5 separate regions of the Homo sapiens genome follow, and regions 1, 2, 3 and 5 are each linked to region 4. Evidence: promoter capture Hi-C in human tissues and cell types (Jung and others, 2019). All regions are on one chromosome and are shown on one strand. The core of a region is centred on a gene start or on the middle of the fragment in contact, and the rest is flanking DNA. Distances in the headings are between cores, read along the strand shown.

The links. The method cuts DNA at HindIII sites, captures the fragments that hold promoters and counts their contacts. A contact is called where the count stands out against the background at its distance.
Region 1: a contact is called between the fragment with the promoter of KHSRP here and the fragment with the promoter of RANBP3 in region 4, in 2 of the 25 tissues and cell types used here (dorsolateral prefrontal cortex and stomach).
Region 2: a contact is called between a fragment that was not itself captured here and the fragment with the promoter of RANBP3 in region 4, in 1 of the 25 tissues and cell types used here (lymphoblastoid cells).
Region 3: a contact is called between the fragment with the promoter of LONP1 here and the fragment with the promoter of RANBP3 in region 4, in 1 of the 25 tissues and cell types used here (adrenal gland).
Region 5: a contact is called between the fragment with the promoter of HSD11B1L here and the fragment with the promoter of RANBP3 in region 4, in 1 of the 25 tissues and cell types used here (dorsolateral prefrontal cortex).

Annotation. Positions count from the first base shown.
Region 1 is chr19:6,421,553-6,426,286 of GRCh38, forward strand. It overlaps KHSRP (KH-type splicing regulatory protein), which reads right to left and starts at 3,259. Exons shown (of 19, transcript NM_001366299.1): 1 at 2,901-3,259; 2 at 788-884; 3 at 98-136. The coding sequence starts at 3,149. SLC25A41 (solute carrier family 25 member 41) reads right to left here. Exons shown (of 7, transcript NM_173637.4): 7 at 4,485-4,734. RefSeq lists an enhancer at 3,567-3,686. The HindIII fragment of the contact is 26,210 bases long and covers 1-4,734 here.
Region 2 is chr19:6,285,477-6,290,191 of GRCh38, forward strand. No RefSeq gene overlaps it. Among named protein-coding and RNA genes, the nearest start is that of MLLT1, 7.9 kb to the left of the region's middle. The HindIII fragment of the contact is 3,632 bases long and covers 1-3,529 here.
Region 3 is chr19:5,717,697-5,722,537 of GRCh38, forward strand. LONP1 (lon peptidase 1, mitochondrial) reads right to left here and starts at 2,450. Exons shown (of 18, transcript NM_004793.4): 1 at 2,008-2,450. The coding sequence starts at 2,436. It overlaps CATSPERD (catsper channel auxiliary subunit delta), which reads left to right and starts at 2,941. Exons shown (of 22, transcript NM_152784.4): 1 at 2,941-3,112. The coding sequence starts at 3,042. RefSeq lists enhancers at 65-581, 582-1,097, 2,131-2,647, 2,600-2,699 and silencers at 2,060-2,139, 2,270-2,319. The HindIII fragment of the contact is 49,943 bases long and covers 1-4,841 here.
Region 4 is chr19:5,976,813-5,981,420 of GRCh38, forward strand. RANBP3 (RAN binding protein 3) reads right to left here and starts at 1,328. Exons shown (of 17, transcript NM_007322.3): 1 at 1,249-1,328. The coding sequence starts at 1,270. RANBP3-DT (RANBP3 divergent transcript) reads left to right here and starts at 1,591. Exons shown (of 4, transcript NR_046376.1): 1 at 1,591-1,702. RefSeq lists silencers at 1,112-1,221, 1,452-1,621, 1,672-1,721. The HindIII fragment of the contact is 11,015 bases long and covers 1-4,608 here.
Region 5 is chr19:5,678,162-5,683,138 of GRCh38, forward strand. It overlaps HSD11B1L (hydroxysteroid 11-beta dehydrogenase 1 like), which reads left to right and starts at 2,866. Exons shown (of 8, transcript NM_198706.3): 1 at 2,866-3,110. It overlaps MICOS13 (mitochondrial contact site and cristae organizing system subunit 13), which reads right to left and starts at 2,355. Exons shown (of 4, transcript NM_205767.3): 1 at 2,297-2,355; 2 at 1,425-1,602; 3 at 1,184-1,235; 4 at 261-487. The coding sequence starts at 2,325. The coding sequence ends at 390. It overlaps LOC107985320 (a long non-coding RNA gene), which reads left to right. Exons shown (of 3, transcript XR_007067107.1): 3 at 1-168. RefSeq lists enhancers at 1,444-1,583, 1,964-2,073, 2,104-2,183, 2,204-2,303, 2,314-2,783 and a silencer at 2,834-3,043. The HindIII fragment of the contact is 40,206 bases long and covers 1-4,977 here.

The DNA of each region.
Region 1 (4,734 bases), core at 2,009-4,508, 450 kb after region 4:
TAAAGAGCTGCCACCTCCTCAGTGCTTCCAGCTCCTGACTCCTGAAAACCTCAACCCTCTGAAGCCACATATCTGCCACCAGACCCCCTGGACTTACAGTCTCCCTGGGAAGCCAGCTTCTTGCTCTCCGGTTGATCTGGGAAAGAGAGAGGATGGCAGATGCAGCACCCACCCACCCACGGCCGCCTCGAACCTGATGCTGGTGCCACATGTCCAAGGTAAACAGTGCCCCTCGGCCCCCACCCTTAACAGGAGCTGAGACAGGAGCCCAGGAGAGACTGGCCCCTGAGGGAGGCCAGACCCCGCCAATTCCGCCACCAACGCTCAGAGTAAAAAAGCCTTCAGAACACGCAACCACCACCAGGCACCTGAGTCCTCCCGGTTTAGGACAGGACCTGCCTCTAGCAGGGAGGGTGTCGTGGATAACAGTGGAGTTGGTCAGGGTTGATCATCCGCTACTTGGGGTCACACTACGCACCCCAGAGCTGGGCCAACTTCACATCAAGCCTCAGTAACTGCTCCAGGTTGCCTCAGCCTCCCAGAAAGGGAGGAATCATCTTGGGAACTTACAACTTCGACCCAGTCACAATCAATCTGCCCTCCTCTCTGCCACCTGATACCTCAGGATGGCAGACGGAACAAGAAGAATTAACAAGGCCGGGATTGCTGAGGTTTTAAAAGACCAAACAACAGTGACACCCACCCCCTCTGAACCACACTCAAACAAAAGCACCTCTTTAGGCCCCCAGCCCTTCCTCCTAAGCTAAAGGCAGCAGCAGGGAGTTACCTCCATCTTCCAACTGTCTCTTTTGGCCCCCAAAACCAAAATCAGGAGTGCTGTTATTCACTGTCGTGGCAGCATCGCCTCCAATTTTGGCTGCAATCTAGAATAAAGTAGTAAGCACAGAAGAATTACCACCAAAAACAACCCTCCATGGCACCCAGGTCAACTTCTCAGAACATCTCCTGGACACGAAAGCCCATCAGGTCTTGGTGTCTGGCCCTCCAACTTAGGGAAGAGTCAGTTGGTTAAGACATCCTAGGAGTTTTGAACCTAGGCCTCAAGGTTCTCACCAGTTAACTGGGAATATCAAAATTCCCCTCTTCCCTTCTCCTGGGATTTGTGTCTTAATTGTGGCCAGCCCATAATCCACACTGACTTCGTTCTAGGGGTGACAAGGAACAGAGGCTCAGGTGTCAGGGAGGGTTCCCAGGTCATCTCCAAGAGCTTTCAGACACTTCCTCCTGCCAGTGGCCCCAGCTCAGAAAACCAGAAAGTGTGTTTTTTTTTAGCCCCGTTTTCCTGGGATGCTGAAGAGTTCAATTTTCCCCTATCTCCCCCACTCTCAAAATCCTTTTATCAATTTATTGAATAAATTTGAGCAAAGCGATCACTTCAAGGGATATGAAATCCTCATTTGACCAAAACAGAAGACTCTCTGGATGGCTGGGCACTGTGACTTATGCCTGTAATCCCAGCATTTTGGGAGGCCGAGGCGGGCAGATCACTTGAACTCAGGAGTTCGAGACAGACTGGCTGACATGGTCAAACTCCATCTCTACTAAAAATACAAAAATTAGCTGGGTGTGGTGGTGCACACTTATAATCCCAGCTACTCGGGAGGCTGAGGCAGGAGGAGCACTTCAACTGGAGAGGTGGAGGCTGTGGTGTGCTGAGATCGTGCCACTGCACCCCTGCCTGGGTGATATTGAGACTGTTTCCAAAAAACAAACAAACAAACAAAAAACCAAGACTCTATGGGACACAAGTTACATCTCAGACACGTGAAGAGCAACTTTAAAGAAACCTCAACCCAGCAAACTTAGGATCAGAGTCTGGGGTTTAGAAACCCAAACCATGTTAAGAATCTCCCTTTCCACCAGTCTCCATTTTTCTACGCTGCCCTAGAGCCAAAACTCATGGGATGCCCACAGGGGGCCTGTCCCCACCAACTGACAGCACCAGCTTCCTCCCTTCAAGCTGTCCCAGAATCAGACGGTTCCATGGGCAATAAGACCAAATGCACGCTAGAACCCACCCAACTCCAAGGGTGAGAGAGACGACAGAGGGCCAGAACACAGGCGTTCACTTAACGGGACCTCCCACCTTGGGAGGAGCCAGTCTCTAGCCCCGGAGGCATTGGGACAGCCCAGGAGCCGGTCGGCGGCAAAGTCCTCCCATTCTACCGACCCCCACCCCTCCAGGCCATGGGGAGGCTGCAAATGGAGCTGGAGAGGTCAGTCCTAGCAGCATGTGACACTTCCTTGTCATTACGCCTCAATACACGGGGGTGGGAGACCCTCCCTTCTTTCCCCCAAAGAGACAGACCACGCTTTCAAGCCACCAAAGCATCCAAGAGCCAGTCCCCATGCTCGTCTTCCCCATTTCGCCCAAGTGCTCAGCCCTAGACAGGTCCCCATCCACTTTCCCGACTGAAGAGGAAGGACTGTCCCTCCCACCCCCACAATGTCCCTTTCTCCTAGAGAGGGGACAGAAATGGGACTGGGTTGGGGGCAAACACTGCCCTTTGCCCTGATATGGAGGGGAGAGTAAAGGCCCTCCGCCCGGGAAGGTGGACCCCTGCCTCCAGGCATGTCCTAAGGCCGGGGGGCTAAGGGGGGGGTCCCAAAAGTGCGTCTCCGAGCTCCGGGGCGCCTGCACACCCAGGCGCCGCTCCTGGTGACCCCCAGTGCGCCCCTACTCCCTGCAGGGGGGTCACCCGTTGGGATCCCACTCGAGGCGCAGCGGGAGGGCCAGGCCCCCGCCTACCGCCCACGTGACCCCGCGACGGCCCCGGCCCCCCTCCGCGACCCTGCGCGCGCGCGCGCACGTGACCCCCGCCCCCTCCCCCGCCTGCGCGCGCGCGCGAGCGCGCCCCTCAGGCCCTCGGCCTCCTCACCTGGCGGGCCCGCTGCACGGCGTCGGCGAAAGCGTCCTTGCGGATTCCCGGGCCGCCTCCGCCGGGTGGCTGAGAGGGGCCCCCGGCCGACCCCCCGCCCGGGCCGCCGCCGCCGGGACCGCCGCCGCCCCGGTCCCCCGCGCCTGGCGGGCCCGGCGGAGGGCCTCCCCCGGCGCCTCCGGCTCCCCCGCCCCCGCCGGCGGGCGGCGGCGGCCCGGGCGGGGGTCCTCCCGTGCTGTAGTCCGACATGGCGCGGCGGGGCCGGGCCTGGCGCGGAGGCTGAAGCTGAGGAGGCGGCGGCGGCGGCGGCGGCTCAACGCGGGAACAAGGCCTCGCTCCACACGGCCGCGGAGCACTCTGGGAACCCAGCCGCTGGGAGGACGACGAGGGGGGAGAGAGTCGCCCCTCCCGCCGCCGACGTGACGGACGACTCCGGCGGGCCAATGGGAGGCAGCCGCCGCACCCCGGACACCAATCGCGAGCTCTGTAGGAGGTGGCCAATCGGAGTGCAATGAGGGGCAGTGGGCGGGAGGCTCAGAGTGACTGACAGCTCTCAGAGGCAATAGCTGCGAGCTGCCCGTGCTGGGCGGGCAAATGAAGGAGATCTGAGAAGGCAGGAGGCCCAATGAAACGCGAGTGCCAGATTCGCGGGGCGGCTTCAGAATTAGATTGACGGTTCTGAAGAGTCACGTGGACTGTAAGGCCGGGCCTAGTGGAAGACTCCTATGGACCGGCTGGGTGGGCGTTAGGTTTGATAGTCGTGGACACAAGCCAATGAATGCACGTGAGAGGTGGTGCTTGTAAAGATGGGCAGCCAATTAATCCAATTCCTGACGAGTTCTGGGTGATGAGGTTGGCTTTGGACTTTAATTGCTTCCCTTGTTAACCAGAATCCTTTTCTATCCCTGACTTCTAAGCCAATGGCTGAGCGACATGGGTGGGTGTTCGGTGACTGACACTGGTCTGGACAAATGGGAATGAAGGAAATCAAAGCGCCCACTTTTGGTGGGAGCCAGTGGAAGCGCCGCTGCATTGGGGCGGAGTCGGCCACCAGACAGCGAGGGGATTAGCGGGAACTGTAGTGAATGGCAGCCGACGTGGGCGGTGGCAATCGGCTGCCCGAACTCAGGCCTGATGTCTGGGTTAGCTCACCGGCAGCCTGGTTGGGTAGGCCCGGCACGTGGCCCGCTTGAAGCCTTAGAGATCGAGCGCTTCCGGAGGTGGGGAGGCCGGAAAGCAGGAAACTCGGGATCCCCCGGGCCTTCTTCTCTCTCGACCCCCCATCTAGAGCGTCCAGTTCTCTTGCAGGACTCAAGGAACCAGCCCCACTCACGAGTCCAGAACCGTTCCAACAACCGGGATCGAGGGATCACAGCCTCGATCACACCCCTCACTTCACACCCCTCACTCCCTTCGCCTAAGGCCCTGGGATCCAAGCCTCAAGCTCCTATCCTAGGTCCTCACTTCCTCTCCTGGACACAAATTCCCATTCAGGACCCAGAGGCCCAAGGTCCCCAGCTCCCCTACTGGGTCCAGGGATCTCATGCACCCAGTTCCACTCCTAGGCCCAAGTATCCAGACACGTTCAGCAAAAACCATCTCTTTATTCCTTGTTGTGTGACATGTTCACCATTTCGCCCTGGAGCCAGGACGACCCACAAGGGGCCAGACTGGAGTCCACGTTTCTTGTCTCAGGCTGCACCCTGGGGAGGGAGTCCCAGGAGTTTTCTGACCCAGCACTGCCCCCCTCCACCCACCACCAACCCCAGCTTCAGGAATCTTCTGACCCAGAGCCCCACCCCCACCCCCAGCCTGCTTTTGCCACCAAAAACTG
Region 2 (4,715 bases), core at 464-2,963, 310 kb after region 4:
TGAGGCCGGGGAATGGCATGAACCCGGGAGGCAGAGCTTGCAGTGAGCCAAGATTGCACCACTGCACTTCAGCCTGGGCGACAGAGTGAGACTCTGTCTCAAAAAAAAAAGAAAAAAAAAGAATAATGAGGAAGGAACTGAATGTCTACTGACACATGAGCGGATAAACTAAACATGGTTTATCCATGCAATAGAAGCTTATTCAACCTTAGAAAGGAAGAAAATAGGGTGTAGTGGTGTGCACCTGTAGTCCCAGCTACTTAGAAGGCTGAGACAGGAGGATTGCTTGAGCGCAGGAGTTTGAGGCTGCAGTGGGCTATGATTGCACTGATGGCAGTGGCTGGCCATCTGGACTGGCCACCACCATCTTACTAGCTGCAGCACAGAGGAATGGCCAGGACTGCATGTTCCATAGATCTGGCAGAAGCTGGTGACAAGTGGGAGCCCCGCCCCTTCTGCATTGGGGTGGGAGCTCCCTGGGTGGTGCTGCAGCCACTAAAGCCATGGCTACAGACCTGGGCATTACTGGGCTCTCAGGCCCAGAGGCAGGCAGGAGCCCCACCCTCCCAGGTGCAGCTGCAGCTGTCCAAACTGCAGCTGCAGATTAGGAGTCCCTGCACTCCTAGGGGCCCGGGAAGGTTCCCCCTGCCCTTGCAGGCTCAGAAATGTCTGCTTCCACTGCTTGGCTTCTCCCTGCTGTTGGTGCCCACTCCATCTCAAAGCAAAGTTGGGGCTGAGCCCCAGAGCTGTTGCAGCCAGGCAGGGTGTGCACAAACTTGGGGCAGCACAGACACACCAGCCCCCTGCTACCTCAGCCCCATCTGGACTTCGGGCACCAACGAGCATAGGAGGGAAGCCAAAGGGGGGGCTGAGGGCAGCTCAGTGCTGACCTGCATGCGCCCCTTGGCACCTATAGCCTGGGCACCATCAACAGCAGCAGGAGGTAGACAGGTTCCTGGATGGAAGGGGATGGGTCCCTGGTGAGGCCCCACCTTCAGGCCAGGGAGGGCCTGAAGGCTAGGGGCTGGGCTACCAGCCCCATGGACTGGAGTGGAAACATGTGATGCCTTTTCCAGGCCTGCTCATGGACCAATCAGCATGCATTTTTTCCCCTCTGAGGCCCATAAAAGCCCTGGGCTCAGCCAAAGCTGGGCAGATATCGGGATGACCAGCTTCAGAGAGCAGCTACCAACTCCAGGGCCTCCTCTCTGCTGAGAGCTGCAGAGACGTCGGGACTACCAGCTGCAGAGAGGAGCAACTCACTCTAAGGCCTCTTCTTTGCTAAGAGCTGGGATGAACATGGGATGACCTGCCTGCAGAGAGAAGCAACTCACCCCAGGGCCTCCTTCTGCTGAGAGCTGCAGGGAATGATGGCACAACCTGCTTGCAGAGAGGAGCTACCCACTCCAGGGCCTCCCCTCTGCTGAAAGCTGGGCAAGCAATGGGACAACCTGCCCGCAGAGAGAAGCTACCCACTCCAGGGCCTCCTCTTCACTGAGAGCCACAGAAAATGACAGGATGGACTGCCTGCAGAGAGGAGCTACCCAATCCAAGGCCTCCTCTGAGCTACTCTGTCGCTCAATAAAGCTCCTGTTCACCTTGCTCACCCTCCACTTGTCCACATACCTCATTCTTCTTGGGCACAGGACAAGAATTCAGGAACTGCTAAACAGCAGGGCTGAAAGAGCTATAAAACCCACAGGGCTGAAACATGCGCCTTGCCATGTTGTGGGTGAAGAGAAGGAGAGAAGAGCTGTGGCCCTTCAGGGACCTAGGAGCTCCCTGAGCCAGGGCTGTGACTCCCTCTTTGGACCCCAGTGTTTCCTATAGTCTCCAAGCTTCTGAGTGCCACTGCATTCCCTGGTGGCAGCTGTGGAAGCTGCTTATGGTGCACCTGGTCTGGCCGCAGCCTCTCAGAGAGCCAGGGCCCCTGCCAGCACCTGGAGCTGTCTGCTCTGCTGCAGCAGCTGGTGTGCCTGGCTGCATGCAGTGGCCGGACCTCATGCTTGCTTGCTTGCTCACACACCCCTCGCCCCTCCATGCCTGGCTTGCCCTTGGCAAGTGTGAGATCCAGGCTAGTAGTGTGAGCTGAGCACAGCCTGCCAGGCCGTGTGGGTGGAATGAGCCCAGTGGGCCCGAGCAAAACTCAGGCAAAGGTGCCACCAGCCACAGAGGTTTCCAACCAGAAATCAACACCCCAAGGATCCTGCAACATTTTTGAGGGCTCGTCCAGGATCTGCAGAAGGGTGAGTGAAAGGGTGAGTAAAAGCAGATCTGCTCTTTCTGTCCCTTTTTAGGAGTCCCTAAACTCAACAATAGCTAAAATGAAAGAAAAACACCAGGCCTCTATTAGCCAGTTAAAATTAACTAGCAGAGATGCTGGACTTAAAACATGGATGATAGCCTTGCTGGGGAGGACACTGTCAATCCCTCATCATCCTCAAGTGTTGAGAATGTTGGGTTTGTTTCAATCCCGTTTCCTTCCATGAGGTCTACCTGTTACATGGGACCAGAAGGAGGTCCTGGGGCAACTGAGGGTATCTGGCTGAGGCTATGCCTCAGTGTTATCCAAAGGCCCCTGGACTAACTCCTGAAACTCAAGTCCCTAAGCGCCCATTAGGGTGTTGTTGGCACTAGGACCTCCAGTCTCCTATCTTTCTTTCTTTCATGGTTGTCAAGGTTCTTATCTCTTCTTTTTTTTTTTTTTTTTTGAGATGGAGTCTTGCTCTGTCGCCCAGGCTGGAGTGCAGTGGCATGGCATGATCTTGACTCCTGACCTTAGGTGATCCACCCACCTTGACCTCCCAAAGTGTTGAGATTACAGGCATGAGCCACTGCACCCAGCTCCTATCTCTTCTTTATATACAACATTAAATTTCTGTGCGCACGCGTGTGTGTGTGTGTGTGTGTGTGTGTGTGTTTGAGACAGAGCCTTGCTCTGTCGCCCAGGCTGGAGTGCAGTGGTGTGATCTTATCTCACTGCAACATCTGCCTCCAAAGTAGTTGGGATTTCAGGCATGCACCACCATGCCTGGCTAATTTTTGTATTTTAATAGAGATGGGGTTTCACCATGTTGGGCAGGCTTGTCTTGAACACCTGACCTCAGGTCATCCACCTGCCTCGCCCTCCCAAAGGGCTGGGATTACAGGTATGAGCCACCGCATCCAGCCTACAATGTTAAATGTTAAGAATGTTGCTGCAAAACAGAGAAATTACTGGATAGAATGAGCATTTGGCTTAGTCATCAAAAGTATAAAATGGAAGGTTAAGAGTAGCACAGATGAGCAAAGTGTGCCTTGGTATCTGTACATAATTTTGTGGGAAAAATGTTATTGTCATTTCCTTGGTTGCCATCTTGGTGCAAGGCACCTTGAGGCACAGAACAGAAGCATGGCCTCAGGAAGGAAGCTTTTCTGTAAACACAAGGGCAAATAAATGGTCCAAGGTCCCATACATGCAGGCCTTCTTTGCCTTGCAGGGTAATCTGGACCTTTGCCAACATTGTAGGATTGATTCAGCTGTCCTAATGGCCTTCTCAGGAGAAGCTGCAAGGGGTAATCCCAGAGAAATAGGGAAGCATACCCCAGAGGTACCTCCAGCAGGGGAATCAATCCCCTCAACTCCTCCCTATCCAGGTTCTCTCTCAAGCTTGCCCCGGCATAGTAATCCTTGTTTAAGGCAGGTCCCAGTCTCAACTGCCCAAAAACAGATGCCTGGTGAATATGGTCCCATTGAAGTTCAGTTTTCCTTTTCTCTATAGAACTTAAGGCAAATTTAAGGGGAGATCTTGGCAAGTTTTCAGATGGCCCTCACAGGTATATAGAGAGTTTCCAGAACTTAACCCAAGTATTTGAGCTCTCCTGGAAAGATGTCATGTTACTCTTGTTTTTGTTTTTGTTTGAGATGGGGTCTCACTCTGTCATCCAGGCTGGAGTGCAGTGGCACTCTCTTGGCTCACTGCAACCTCCACCTCCCAGGTTCAAGTGATTCTCCTGCCGCAGCCTCCCAAGTAGCTGGGACTACAGGCATGCACCACCACACTGGCTAATTTTTATATTTTTAGTAGACATGGGGTTTTACCATATTGGCCAGGCTGGTCTCAAACTCTTGACCTCAAGTGATCTGCCCACCTTGGTATCCCAAAGTGCTGGAATTACAGCCATGAGCTGCACCCGGCTTCATGTTACTTTTGAATCAAACCCTGACCACCACTGAAAAGCAGGCCACCCTGAAAGTGGCACAGAATTTTGGGGATGAGCTTTATATCTTATATAGGGCCAGGGAAGGGGATGAGACTTATCTGATTGGAAGAATAGCAGTACCACTGAAGAACCCTAAATGGGACCTCAATGATGAGACAAAAGAATGGGGCCAGGCGTGGTGGCTCACACCTGTAATCCCAGAACTTTGGGAGGCTGAGATGGGCGGATCATGAAGTCAGGAGATCAAGACCATCTTGCCCAACATGGTGAAACCCCATCTCTACTAAAATACAAAAAAAATAGCCAGGCATGGTGGTGCACACCTGTAGTCCCAGCTACTTGGGAGGCTGAGGCAGGGAATCACTTGAGCCTGGGAGGCAGAGATTGCAGTGAGCTGAGATCATGCCACTGCACTCCAGCCTGATGACAGAGCAAGACTCTGTCTCAAAAAAAAAAAAAAAAAAGAAAATGGAAAAGGAGGCCAGGCACGGTGGCTCACACCTGTAATCCCA
Region 3 (4,841 bases), core at 1,200-3,699, 260 kb before region 4:
AGTACACCAAAGAGGAAACAGCATCACGTTATTGCTGAGGCAGGGCCTCATTCTGTTGCCCAGGCTGCAGTGCAGTGGTGACACCATGGCTCACTGCAGCCTTGATCTCCCAGTTTCAAGTGATCCTCCTGCCTCAGCCTTCCAAGTAGCTGGGAAGACAGGTGCATGCCACTGTGCCCGGCTTTTCTTTCTTTCTTTTTTTTTTTTTTTTTGTAGAGACAGGGTCTATGTTGACCATACTGGTTTCAAATTATGCTCCTGCCTCAGCCTCCCAAAGTGCTGGGATTAAACATGTGAGACACCGTGCCCAGCCCACATGGCCTCATTTAAATCCCACAACAACTCTAATAAGACACTAATATGTCCAGGTCACAGATGAGAAGAGGGAAGCCAAAGGAATAACTTGCTGAAGGTTATGGAGCTAGGATAGGACCCCACAAGGTCTTGCTCTGGGGGCCTGCATCAGTAACCAGTACTCAACATCAAGGAAAGGCCTTGGGGCCGGGCGCAGTGACTCGCACCTGCAATCCCAGCACTTTGGGAGGCTGAGGCGGGTGAATCACTTGAGGTCAGGAGTTCGAGACGAGCGTGGGCAACATGGTGAAACCCTGTCTCTTCTAAAAATAGAAAAATTAGCCAGCCACGGTGGCGGGCGCCTGTAATCCCAGCTACTCAGGGGGCTGAGGCAGGAGAATCACTTGAACCCGGGAGGCAGAGGTTGCAGTGAGCTGAAATCGCGCCACTGCACTTTAGCCTAGATGACAGAGTGCAACTTGGTCTCAAAAAAAAAAAAAAAAAAATCTTGGAGCAGCGTTGGAGAAGCTCCCTCTGTCCCCTCTCTACTGGCTGCTGCCCCTCTGAAATGGCCTTTCCCTTCCCAACAGATCCTTGAGATTTGTTTAGAAGAGTCTGGAGAGTGAGCGCAGAGGCTGACTCACTGCGTGACCTTGCTCTGCCAGTTAGGAGATAACCTTCCCATAGATGCCACTTTCCACATCAGTAGTTTTTTTTTTTAAGGGAAGGGGAGCTGGGGGAGAAGGCTTTTGGGGCCTTCCTACTGTAAAAGCTCAAGTTCCTTACACTCACTGCTTTCTCTCTATTACATCATCCTGCTCCCTCCCCACCCCCAAGGCTCTTAGTCTGAAATGATCTAATTTCTACCACCGGAATGACTTGTTCTCTACAGTATTCTCAGAACTTGCTACGTGGTAGGAGGTCAAGAACACACTGAATAACCCACCTCTTCCCACCCTCCTAAGCCTCCTGTCCCATCCATGCTCTACTATTTCTCGTAATTATTGCCTTCTAATACAATATCGTTACTAAACATCTTTATTGCCTGTCTCATCCTGCCAAAATGTAAGCTCCAAGGCAGATTTATTTTTTAAGAGACAGGGTCTCGCCATGTTGACCAGGCTGGACTCCAGGTTTCCAACAATCCTTCCACCTCAGCCGCCAGAGTAGCTGGGAGTACAGCGCGCGCCACCATGCCCAGCTTCAAAGGCAGAAATTTTTGTCTGTTTTGTTCACTGCCATATCCCCAGAACCTAGAACACTCTCTGGCAAATAATAAGCAATCAAGAAGTATTTGTCTAAGAAAGGAATGAATTCTGATCCCAGTGAGGCTCGTAACCAGACGGCAGAGCGCCTGGGGCGAGGAGGTATTACAAAACTCGTGCCAAGTAAGGAGAAAACTAACAGCGCCGTAACACTACTCAGGTCCCTCCCGGCCCCGGATTTCTATGACCGGCGTTCTAAAGTGGATAATCCTAGGCTCATCGGGTTCAACTCCTCTCATCTAACGGATCCTAAGAAATCCGAAAGGGAGAGGACTTTGGCTCAAGGTTCCCAAGCTAGTGGTGAGCAGACAAGGATTCGAACTGCACCCTTCGAGAAACTTCATGTCTGAAAAAGTTGCGAAACACAAGGGCGCTCAAGTGATCCCACGGTTCAGCCCGCTGCTTGCACAGGTGGGAAACCTGAGGCCGAGGCGGGGACTCCCATTACCTCGATAATCTTGATAAAGCGCGGGAACACCGGGTTGCGGGTGATGGCGATGAGCGGCAGGTGCGGAAACACATCGGGGATCGTCATGGGCGTGAGCGCCGTTATGACCGGGCCTTCCCCGGCGCCCGCGCTGCCCCCCGCGCCGCCGGCTCCTTCCTCCGCGCCGCCCTCGGAGGCGTCCTCGCCCCCCGAGAATGCGCCTCCGCCGCGGCTGCTCGCTTCCCAAAACCCCCGCCATTGGCCCCCAATTGCCGGGCCTCGGCCCCACAGTGCCCAAGGAGGAGAGGCGTCGCAGGTCCGCTGGCCTCGGAGCAACCACGCTCCTGCTGCAGTGGGAACCCGCCCCCCGGCGGCGGCCAGCATCGGCCGCCGCAGCACCCAGCACCGCGCCGCTCCCCACAGTCGCACGTAGCCAGTGCTCGCCGCCATAGCCCGGCCATACTGGCGGCTCACACAACTCGCGTCATTTCCGCTCGCCGCGAAACGCACGTGACGCCCGGCGCGTGCCTCGGTACCCGATGGGCGCGTGGCTCGAAACAGCCGCTTCAGGGAGCTGGGCCTACGCGGAGAAGAGGGGGCGGAGTTCGAGCATCGGATCGTCTCCGCCTCTTCCGGTCTCCCACTTTATGCGCTGAAGGCCTTTTCCGGTCACGTGGAAGGCTGTGAGCAGGCGCCAGCGCCCGTACAAAACACTGGTAGTGTTGCAAACGCAACGTTTAGGAACTCATGAGCAGCCTGTGCACATGCTTAGGCGCGCGGACAACATGCGCATGCTCAGACTCTAGACTGGCCACGGGTGGCCGGGTGCGCATACTCAGGCTCTGAGCGCACTTTGGGGTGCGCGGATTCGGGCTTCCCGGGATTCGTCTGCGCATGCTCAAGATTCAGGCGGAGCGCCGGGCTGCAGTGCGCGGAGGCCCGCTCCCGGGACTCATTGATGCGCATGCGCAGGGCTTCAGCCTGCACGTACTCGGATTGTGCAGCGACTCCCCGTGGCGGTTGAGGGGCAGTGGTGGCGGCGGAAGCCCAAGTCGATGCTGATGTTGATGCTGGTGGCGGCTGTGACCATGTGGCTCCGACCGCTGGTCACAGCTCAGCTCTGTCGGTGGGGCTGCCAGGACTCCTGGGGCTGGGGTGCTGCCGGGGGTCGGGAGGGTGCTGGTTCATCTTGGAGCCGAGGCCTGCTCCCCAACCTCACTGAGGCTCCCCTTTTACTCTTTTTAGGAATCGAACTTGACGCCTCGCTCACCCTACTCCACCCCATCCTCCCAGCCCGATATTAAGCTCTCCTACCTCTTTTTTTTTTTTTTTTTGAGACGGAGTCTCGCTCTGTCGCCCAGGCTGCAGTGCAGTGGCGCGATCTCGGCTCACTGCAAGCTCCGCCTCCCGGATTCACGCCATTCTCCTGCCTCAGCCTCCTGAGTAGCTGGGACTACAGGCGCCTGCCACCACGCCCGGCTAATTTTTTTTTGTATTTTTAGTAAAGACGGGGGTTTCACCGTATTAGCCAGGATGGTCCCGATCTCCTGACCTCGTGACCCGCCTGCCTCGGCCTCCCAAAGTGCTGGGATTACAGGCGTGAGCCACCACGCCGGGCCTAGCCCTCCCACTTCTTTTTCTTTTTGGAGCCGGAGTTTTTGCTCTGTTTCCCAGGGTGGAGTGCAGTGGCGCGATCTCTGCTCACTGCAACCCCCGCCTCCCAAAGTGCTGGGATTGCAGGCGTGAGCCACCGCGCCCAGCCTTACCCAGCACATTTTGAAATTTCAGTAAATGTTAGGTTAGTGCATACTCCAACCTGCCATGGGGACCAGTTGCTGAAACTCCGTTCCTGCCCTCAGGGAACTCCCATCTGGACTAAACTGTCACATTCAGTAGGGACCTGTGAGCTGTATTCTTAGGGTGTATGGCCTCATTTGATGTTTACAGGAAGATTCATAATGATTCCTTAACCTTATTTTATTTTATTTATTATTATTTTTTGTACAGATGGGGTCTCACTGGCTGGGTGCAGTGGCTCACGCCTGTAATCCCAACACTTTGAGAGGTAGAGGTGGGCAGATCACTCACTTGAGGTCAAGAGTTCCAGACCAGCCTGGCCAACATGATGAAACCTCGTCTCTACTAAAAATACAAAAATTAGCCAGGCTTGGTGGCAGGTGCCTGTAATCCCAGCTACTTGGGAGGCTGAGGCAGAAAAATCGCTTGAATTCAGGAGGTGGAGGTTGCAGTGAGCTGAGATCGCACTCCAGCCTGGGTGACAAAGGGAGACTCTGTCTCAAAGGAAAAAAAAAAAAAAAGAGATGGGGTCTCACTGTTTTGCCCAGGCTGGTCTTGAACTCCTAGGCTCCAGTGATCCTCCTGCCTCAGCCTCCCAAAGTGTTGGGATTACAGGCATGAGCCACCCATGCCCAGCCATACCCTTATTTTATTTTTTTGAGATGGAGTCTTGTTCTCGTCGCCCAGGCTGGAGTACAATGTCACGGTCTCGGCTCACTGCAACCTCCGCCTCCCAAGTTCAAGCAATTCTCCTGCCTCAGCCTCCAGAGTAGTTGGGATTATGGGCGCCTGCCACCACGTGCAGCTAATTTTTTGTGTTTTTAGTAGAGACAGGGTTCCACCATGTTGCCCAGGTTGGTCTCGAACTCCTGACCTCGTGATTCACTTGCCTCGGCCTCCCAACGTGCTGGGCTTACAGGCGTGTGCCACCGCGCCCGGCCAACACCCTTATTTTATAGATACGAAAGCATACTTAGGAAAGTTAAAGACACACTTGCCTAACAACACATACCTAGTAAGTGGGAGAAACATTTTCCAGTGAAATTTACTAATAGGAT
Region 4 (4,608 bases), core at 78-2,577:
AGCGCCCGCCCAACACCACACAGAATCAGAATCTGCAGGGACTGAGCACCCGTGGTCTGGCATCTGAAGCCAGGCCATCTTGGTTCACATCCCTGCTCCTTCCCAGCTGTGTGACACGCCTTGGATAAGCGACTTAACCACGTTGACTCAGTCTCCTCATCAAGTGAATGGGGCTAACAGTATCTATACCTCCTACCAGGGAAAACAGTATGTCAAGACTTTGCACCACACCTGGTAACTACCCTAAATGCTCCACAAGACCAAGCACTTCCTATCATCATTCATTCATTACTGCAATTCGGTAGGGAAAACCCTCCAGTCACAGGGAGCACCGAATGGGGGAATCAGAGCCAGACAGGTAGAGAGCTTGCCTGCATTTGTGCAACTAGAAAAGGGGGGGAGCTAAAAATAGGCCTCAGAAGTCTTGAAGCTACAGCGATGGCAACACGACTATGGATGGAAGCAGACATCAGCCTTATGGTGCCTTCTCGGGGGATCTGGAAGTGTAACCTTGTCAAAAACACTCAGGTGGGCTGTCAGCGCTCCACAGAGGAGGGACTCGCACGGTCTCTTGTCTGGAAGTGCAGCAAAAAGGGCCAAAGAGCAGCCAGGGTTTTCGGCGGCCCAGATCCTGCGGCGGGGCCTAAATGAGGGGGAGACGAAGCGCCCCGAAGGATCCGGGGGGAACTGGCGGGAAGTGGGGGCCGAAGTTCGGGGCGGGGACGGGGTGAAAACGGCCTGGGCTTCCTCCGTCCGCGGTGTGCGGCTGGCCCGCGGAGGACGAGGGCCTCACGGGCTTAGGAGATAGGCAGCCAGGCCGGGGAAGGGGAGATGCCGGGTGGCGGAGGACGAGGGGGCGGGGAGGGAGCGTGGCGCGCTCCGGGCCACAACCAGGCCCTAAGGTCTATTTACATCCGTGGCCGAAGCACTGGGGCCGCGCCTCCCGCCCCCTTCAGCCCCGAGCTTGGCTGCGACGCAGAGGGGCCTTAGGGCTGCGATCCCGATGGCCACCCGGCTCCTCTAGCCAGACGGCTGCAGTGGCTGGGGTTGCCGGGAGTGATGGGCCGGGCCGGTGAGCCCGGCCTGAGGGGACGCAATAGGGGGCGGCTGCAAGGCCCGCCACGGCGCTAGCCTGGAGCGGACGAAACCCTTGCACTCTGCGGTGCTCCCCCCAAGGGCTTGTGGCCCCTAGTCCTCCCGCCGCCCGTTCCCCGGCCGCCAGCCGGTCCCCAACGGCGCCTCCCCTACCTTCGTTCGCCAGGTCCGCCATTTTACTTCCTTAAGCCCTCCCACAAGGCCCCGCGCCGGCCCAGGCTCGCCTGCTTTCTGCCAGAAACTCCCGCGCGTGCGCACTTAACAAGCCGACTCCGTGTGAGGCGGCCAGCTCGCGCCTGCGCGCTGAATGCCGCGCGGAGGCGAGCCCCGGATCGCCTGCCCTGCAGAGCAGCCTGCCCTGACGAGCCGCGCTCCTAGCACGCACCTGCGCACGAGCCATCTCCCGCCTCCTTTTCCCGCCGACTGAGAGGGCGGGGAAAGGGCCGGGAAGGGCGCATGCGCAGTGGCAGCGACTAAGGTTTAGTGAGGCGGCACCGCGCGGCCCGAGGCGGGTCTTGAAGCACTCGTTTTCCCACTCGTTTTCCGGGGTTCCCCCGCGGTGGGACAGTGAGCAGTTCAGGGCGCCGCAGCCGAGGCCTTCCTCCAGGTAAATCGCCGGGCCTGCGGGGGCTTCCCACACGCGCGGGCGGGAGACGCGTTGCCTCCTACCTCAGTTTACCCGCCTTAGGAGCCGGTACCTTCGGCAAACGCTTTCCTGAAACCACGGGGGAAGTGGCGAGAGGGCGCGGGGTGCTTGGGATTGGGGGGTAAATCAGAGCTCATCGGCGGGGGCGGGGGTCGTGGTCAGGCTCTAGGAGGGGGCGCAGCCCTGGGACCCAGGTGCTGGCGTTGGGGGCGGGGGGAGCCGGCGCGAGGGACTCGACCCCTCGGAGCTACGAGAATCAACTTCACAAGCTCATGGGAGGGGAACCGCGCGCCTCCAGGTTACCCATCTGTAAAATGGGACCATCAGCCTCACTCACAAGGCTCATGGGAGGGTCCTGGACACCCTGGAGTTGTTCTCTACTCACCTGCTATGAATCTCTCAGCAAATCCTTCGGACTTGGCCTTGCCTCCAAAATACAGCCCAGAGCCACCCATTGTCACCCCCAGGCTGTCACCACCCTAGGCCACATCGTCCGTATCTATCTCATGGAAGACTTGGACAGCGGCCTCTCTGCTATCCTTTGCTGCATTCTTTTGAAGCCCCAGGCTTGGTTCTGCACATGGCCGCAGGCTGAGGAGTCTTTGAAAAATATAATCAGCCAGACGCGGTAGCTCACCCCTGGAATCCCAGCACTGCGGGAGGCCAAGGTGGGAGGATCGCTTGAGCTCAGTTCAAAACCAGCCTAGGCAACAGAGCAAGACCCCATCTCTACAAAAACACAAAAATTACCCGGATGTGGTGGTGCAAGCCTGTGGTCCCAGCTACTTGGGAGGCTGAGGCAGGAGGATCACTTGAGCCCAGGAGGTTGAGGCTGCAGTGAGCTGTGACAGTGCCACTGCCACCATCCTAGGGACACAGCAAGAACCTCCCCCATATATATACACATATATACTTTGTTTTTATCTATATATATACACACAGATATATACATACACGTGTGCATATATATGTGTGTGTGTGTATATATATATATATACACATAGACTGAAAATGGAAATATCAAGGCCACTCAGTGCTTCCAGAGGGCTCTCAGCTGAACTTGGAATATCCTAAACCTTGTATTCAGGTTTATGAAGTCCCCTGAACTTGGCTCCCATGCCCTGCTTTGTTCCCCCTTGCTCATTGCTGTTCAGCCGCGTGGGTCTTTCCATCCTTGGAGCACAAGCTCATTCCAACCTAAGGGTCTTTGCACTTGGTCGTCTCTCTGCCTGGGACCTTGTGTTTCAGGTCTTACCTAGGTTGGAGTCCCAGCTCTGCACCTTTTTGAGTATGATCTAAAAGAGAGCGAGGAGTACTACAATCTGTGGGCCAGATATAGTCTATGAGCTAAAAATGGTTCCTCCCTCCCTCCCCTTGTTCCCTCCCTCCCTTTCCTTCCCTTCCCTTTCTTTTATTTATTTTGGAATCTAACTCTGTTGCCCACGCTGGAGTGCAGTGGTACAATTTCGACTCACTACAACCTCCGCCTCCCGGGTTGAAGTGATTCTCCTGCCTCAGCCTTCTGAGTAGCTGGCATTACAGCTGTGTACTACTATACCCAGCTAGTTTTTGTGTTTTTTTGTGGAGACAGGGTTTCACCATGTTGGCCAGGCTGCTCTCGAACTTCTGACCTCAGGTGCTCTGCCCACCTTGGCTTCCCAAAGTGCTGGGATTACAGGCATGAGCCACCGCGCCTGCCGATTTTTTTACATTTTTAGCTGGTTGGGAAAAAAAATACCAAAAGAAGAATATCTATTGATGTGAAAATGGTGTGAAATTTACATTTCAGTGTCTGTAAATAAAGTTTTATTTGAAAACAGCCAATGCTTACTCATTTATATATTGTCTCTGGCTACTTTTGAGCTGTGACATTAGAGCTAATTTTTTTTTTTAACAGAAACTTTTTGGCCAACAAAACTTAAAGCATTTACTGTTTGTGTCTTTACAGAAAAAGTTTGCCAGTTCCTAATCCAGGACACATGTATTTACATGGTTGTTAAACTTTTCTGAACAGCCAGTGGGATGTGGTAAATATTTAACAGCAGCTTCTCTGGAAGAGAATGTATTCGTTAGTATGTATTTATGTGTGTGTATATAGTTTATTGTAAATTTTACTTATTTTTCTATCACTTTCTTAAGACCACAAGACAATTAATAAAACAAATTGAACCCTGTTTTGTAGCGTCTGCTGATTTTCTGGGTGTGAATCCTTCAGCCATGGCCTATATTGTTACTAATGGGATGTCACTAGCACCAGAGTTGGGAGGACATGCGCAGTAGTAGCACACCAGATTCTTTTTTTTTTTTTTTTTTTTCTTTTGAGGCAGAGTCTCGCTTTGTTGCCCAGGCTGGAGTGCAGTGGCGCGATCTCAGCTCACTGCAACCTCTGCCTCCCGGGTTCAAGCGATTCTCCTGCCTTAGCGTCCCCAGTAGCTGGGATTACAGGCGCTCACCACCATGCCTGGCTAATCTTTGTATTTTCAGTAGAGACTGGGTTTCACCATGTTGGCCAGGCTGGTTTCGAACTCCTGACCTCAAGTGATCCACCCACCTCGACCTCCCAAAGTGTTGGGATTACAGGTGTGAGCCACTGTGCCCGGCCACACACCAGATTTTTTTCAAGAACCTGACTTTCAGCCGGGCGCGGTGGCTCACGCCTGTAATCCCAGCACTTTGTGAGGCTGAGGCAGGTGGATCACGAGATCAGGAGTTCAAAATCAGCCTGGCCAGCACAGTGAAGCCCCGTCTCTACTAAAAATACAAAAAATTAGCCGGGTGTGGTGGCAGGCGCCTGCAATCCAGCTACTCGGGAGGCTGAGGCAGGAGAATCACTCGAACCCGAGAGGTGGAGGTTTCAGCGAGCTGAG
Region 5 (4,977 bases), core at 1,616-4,115, 300 kb before region 4:
CCTCCAAAACCAAGACCCTCCACAACCCAGGCTTGGCCAAAGCACTTTCCTGGCCCCAGAGCACAGCCTCTGGAGCACCGGGAGCAGCCGCTCTGACCTCTGACTCCCCGCACCAGAGCAGACGGCAAAGGGGAGTGCTATGGCCTGTGGTCAAGGTCAAGCCCTGACAAGCCATCAGGAGCCAGAAGCCCAGGCCTCGGTGCTCTGGGCACCACCAGGCCAACCCTGTGCTCCCTGGGGCCAGCACACGGGTCAGGGAACACTTCTGAAGTCCTTTATTGGGCCGGCAAGGCCGGGAGCTGCCCTCGGAGTGGGGTCCCAGTCCGGAGTCTTCAGGTCAGTGGCAGCCCTGCCCGTTCTGGCCGGGGCAGGCGGCCCCTGCTGACTCGCTACTTGGTGCGCGCCTTCACATACTCCCAGCCCTCCTTGGAGTACTCGCGGGCCTTGGAGGGGGCCACCGACAGAGCTGACATCACCGTCATGATGCCTGTGGGAAAGGGACGGCCACTGGTGATACTCCCCTCCCAGCCTCACCCAGCCTCCAACCCCTGGGAAACTCTAGAGTTTGTTTTGGGCGGTGGGGGGTGGGTGGGGGGCGGGGATGGAGTCTCACTCTGTCTCCCAGGCTGGAGTGCAGTAGTGCAATCTCGGCTCACTGCAACCTTCGCCTCCTGGGTTCAAGCGATTCTCTTGCCTCAGCCTCCCAAGTAGCTGGGACTACAAGTGCGCCACCATACCAGGCTAATTTTTGTATTTTATTTTTTTGAGATGGAGTCTCGCCCTGTCGCCCAGGCTGGAGTGCAGTGGTGCAACCTCGGCTCACTGCAACCTCTGCCTCCTGGGTTCAAGCAATTCTCCTGCTTCAGCCTCTCAAGCAGCAGCTGGGATTACAGGTGTGCACCACCACGCACGGTTAATTTTTGTATTTTTAGTAGAGATGGGGTTTCACCATGTTGCCCAGGCTGGTCTCGAACTCCTGACTTCAGATGATCCGCCCACCTCAGCCTCCCAAAGTGCTGGGATTACAGGCGTGAGCCACTGTGCTCGGCCTCCTTTCCCTTTTAGATCCCTAAGAGACACGTGTCGGGCAGGAAGGAGGATGGACAGAAAGGAATGGCCAGGAAGTGGGGAGAGGGGCTAGACTGGGGTGTCTCCCTCCAAGCAAAGAAACTGGGTGCCTTACCTGCATTCCAGGAGTCACGGATGGGAAAGTAAATCTTTGGAGGGGCTGGGAGCTGGGAAAAAGAGATGGGCAGAAAGAACTGGTGAAAAGGCTCAGCAGCCCATCCCCAGAGGCGGAGGGAGGAGGACAGGCCGGAGAATCAGGTCAGCATCAATATGGAGGACAACATCGTGCAGGGCTGGAGGGACCTCCCAGAGCTGACCACCCGCCAAACCCTGGCCTCGTTCCCGGCCCGTAGTACCTGGGGTATCTGCAGGCCTGTCTGCTGACACACGTACTGGCTGAACTGGTACATGGCGGGGGGGACCACCTCCCCAGCCTTCTGTAGGGCTGCCTGGCTCTTGTCGCTGGGCCCCAGCAGCTCCTGGTCGTACACCAGGTAGACGGCGCCCCCAGCCACACTTCCCTTGATGAGGAACCTGCGGGCAGGGACGGGAGGAGCAGAAGCTCAGCGGACACTGACAGCCACCCTCAGGGGCCAAGGCCCACGGGGAGAGTGAGACCCTCCTGAGGGCTCACCGTCCACAGGGTGACACTCTGTAGTGCAGCACCGTCGACCCAGACCCCTATTATATACAGCACTCGTTTTACAACGTGCAAGGCAGGGCGGCTGGACGCCACTTGAACTGATGAACTGAAACCCAGAGGGGGAGAGTGGGTCACTCAAAGTCCCACAGTGAGCAGGGGCAGTGAAGACGTAAGATCTTGACCTTCTAGAAGCCTTCCAGCCCTGGAGAAACCAAGTGTCCCTGGGCGCCTCCTGCCCGCTGTCACTCGCAGCTCCGAGCACGCATTCACTTCTCATCCACGCCAGCGGCAGGATTCACCGGCATTCCCACCTCACAGAGAAGACAACTGAGGCTCGGAGGCGGAGGCTGACACCGCGAACTGAACGCCAAGGGCTCGCTGGGAAGCAGGAGGGAGGGGATTGGCGACCTCGGGAAGCCCCGCCCCTCTGAAGCCTCAGTTTCCCTATCTGGCCCATAGGCGGGGAACGAAGGGGAAGTGACTCTAAGGGAAGCGAAGAGCAGATCGGGACCAGACTGGAGACAGGGATGCCCACAAAAATGGACTTTTTCGGGGACTCGGGTCCCCTCCGGCGCCCCCACGCACCTCATCAGCGACCACACCCGGGCCACCATGGTCGCTCGGATCCACGCGCAAGGACACTCGGCTCGCCCGCCGCTTCCTGTCGCGGCGCCGCAGAGGCCTCTGGAAGGTGTAGTCTTTCTTGCCCGACGCAAGGTCCTCTGGGAGTCGTGGTGTCTTGCGGCTCTGAGACTCCAGAGAAGGGCTGCGGTCTCGCAGCGGAGGGCCGCTGGGAAATGGACGCTTTAAGGCCCGGGCCGCCGCAAGGCTGTCTGGGAAATGTAGTCAGCACGGCGCTGTTTGCACCTGGCCGCGGAGCCTCCTGGGAAATGTAGTTCGGCCCGGCCCTGGCACCGTGAGGGGAAAGAGGCGTCAGGTGCCTGGCTGAAGCCTGAAGGTGACCCGAAAACAAGTCAGAGCCCGAGAGATCCACCCGCGCCCGCGCGGGGGACCAAGGGCCCGGATTTAAGAAGAGTGTGCCTACAAGGCGGTTGTCACGGCAACGAGAGGGCGGGATTGTTCGAGCGCTGCGGCCCCCTCACGTGATCGATTCGGAGGCGGGGCGTCCGCCCAGTGGGCGGGGCCGGGCCCCTGCTGGGAGGCGAAGACCAGGCGGGCACTGTTGCCCGGCGACGCTCCGGCGCTGGGTCCCCGAGGCCCGGCCCCTCCCCGGGAGGAGGTGGGCTTCGAGTCACGTGACCCGTGCCCTACGGGAGGGGGTGCGGTCGGGGACCCGGCAGGAGGCGGCCGAGAAGAGAGGACCGTGGGGGCGTTCGCGTGGCTCCCAGCCCGGGACCCCACCCCCGCTGGACAGTGGGGGAAACTGAGGCCTGAGCGGGTGAGTGCACGGTTTAGGGGTGCGCAGAGGGTCACACGCCCGCTTTGTTCAGAGGGGAAGCTAAGGCCCGCCGAGGTCAAGAAGGGGCCGATGCGTTCTGCAGGGCTTCCCCCCATTTCTCCCGCATTTCGGCCGGGCTGCTTCAACCGTTCATCTGCCCATCCATCCATCTGTCCCCCACCCGTCTATCCATCTGGCCATCCACCCATCTATCCTTCCATCTATCCATCCACACTTCCGTTCATCCATCTGTCCGCCCATCCATTCATCCATCTGCTCCCCCCATCCTTCCACTCATCCATCTGTCCACCCATCCATCTATTTATCTGGCCACCCACTCATCTATCCGTCCATCCATCCATCCATCCATCCATCCATCCATGCATCCGTCCGTCCATCCATCCATCCATCCATCCATCCATTTATGTGTTCCCATTTATCCATTCATACATCCATCCACTCATCCATCTATCCACCCATACATCTCTCCGTCCATCATCCATCCATCCACCCATCCATCTATTCATCTGGCCATCCACCCATCCATCCTTCTATCTATGCATCCATACATGCATCTGTCCATCTATCCATTCATCCATCCACCCATCCGTCCACCCGTCAGTCCATCTGGTCCCACTTCCCCCTGCCGGGCTGCTGCAGTCAGTGTAGAGCTGGGGGTGGAAAGAGGGATGAGCAGAGGAGCTTCATGGGCTGTCCCTGGAAGGGGAAAAGGTGGAAGCTCGTTTCTTGCTGTGGGCATGCCTGGTGTGTCTGGGAAAGGTGAGGAGTTCATTATTTTGAGAACTGAACGATTCATAGATGGGGCCGTGGGAGAGAAGGATAGACAGGTAGTCAGGGGCTATACCTGCAGGGCCTCATGGGGTGCAGTGAGGAGCCTGGTTTCCATCAGTTGCAGTGGGGACCCCTGAGAGGGTTTGGAGCAGGAAGGGCCATGGCCATGTTGCTTTTGACACAGACGCCTTTGGCTGCATTGACAGAAGAGGCAGGGAGAGAATGAGTATGGACATGGGGAAGCCAGTGTGGAGGTGGGGGAGACCAAATCGGAGATGGAAGGGAGGCCAAAGGAAAGATGGGGGTGGTCAGGCCCGGGGTAGGGTCTAGGAGGGAGGTGACAATCTGGGAGTCCTGGAGAGAGAGAGGAAGGGACAGCTGGGGAGAGACTGGAGAGGGAGAACTGATAAGATCTGAAAACCATGAGCTCGTGGGGGTGAAAGGATAGAAGGAGGTGAGGACAATACCTGGGTCTCCCATTTAGGGACAGGGGATAGTGGGGCTATTTCTGTGATGGTGAGCTGGGAAGAGAAGCAGGTATGGGGTGACATGCTGAGCCTGGATTGGGTCCTGCTGGTTCTAAGGGGCCTGGAGGTTGTCAGGAGGAGACACCCAGAAGACAGCAGAGGCAAAGAACCTAGGGCTGGACCTACAGATGGGAGATTTAGGGACTCCTCAATGATCCGCTCCATCTGGTCTGTCTCAGCTTCCTGGTTCTGGAAGTCCCCTTCCCCTTGTCCCATTGACTTTTTTTTTTTTTTTTTTTTTTTTTTAGACAGAGTCTCACTCTGTTGCCCAGGCTGGAATGCAGTGGGGCGATCTCAGCTCACTGCAATCTCCACCCCGCTGGGTTCAAGCAATTCTCCTGCCTCAGCAGGAGACCCCATCTCTACAAAAAATACGATGATTAGTTGGGCGTGCTGGTGCACCCACTTGTAGTCCTAGCTGCTCCATTGGCTGGGATCACAGGCATGTGCCAGCATGCCCAGCTAATTTAGTATTTTTAGTAGAGACTGGGTTTCTCCATGTTGGTCAGGCTGGTCTCGAACTCCCAGCCTCAAGTGATCCGCCCACC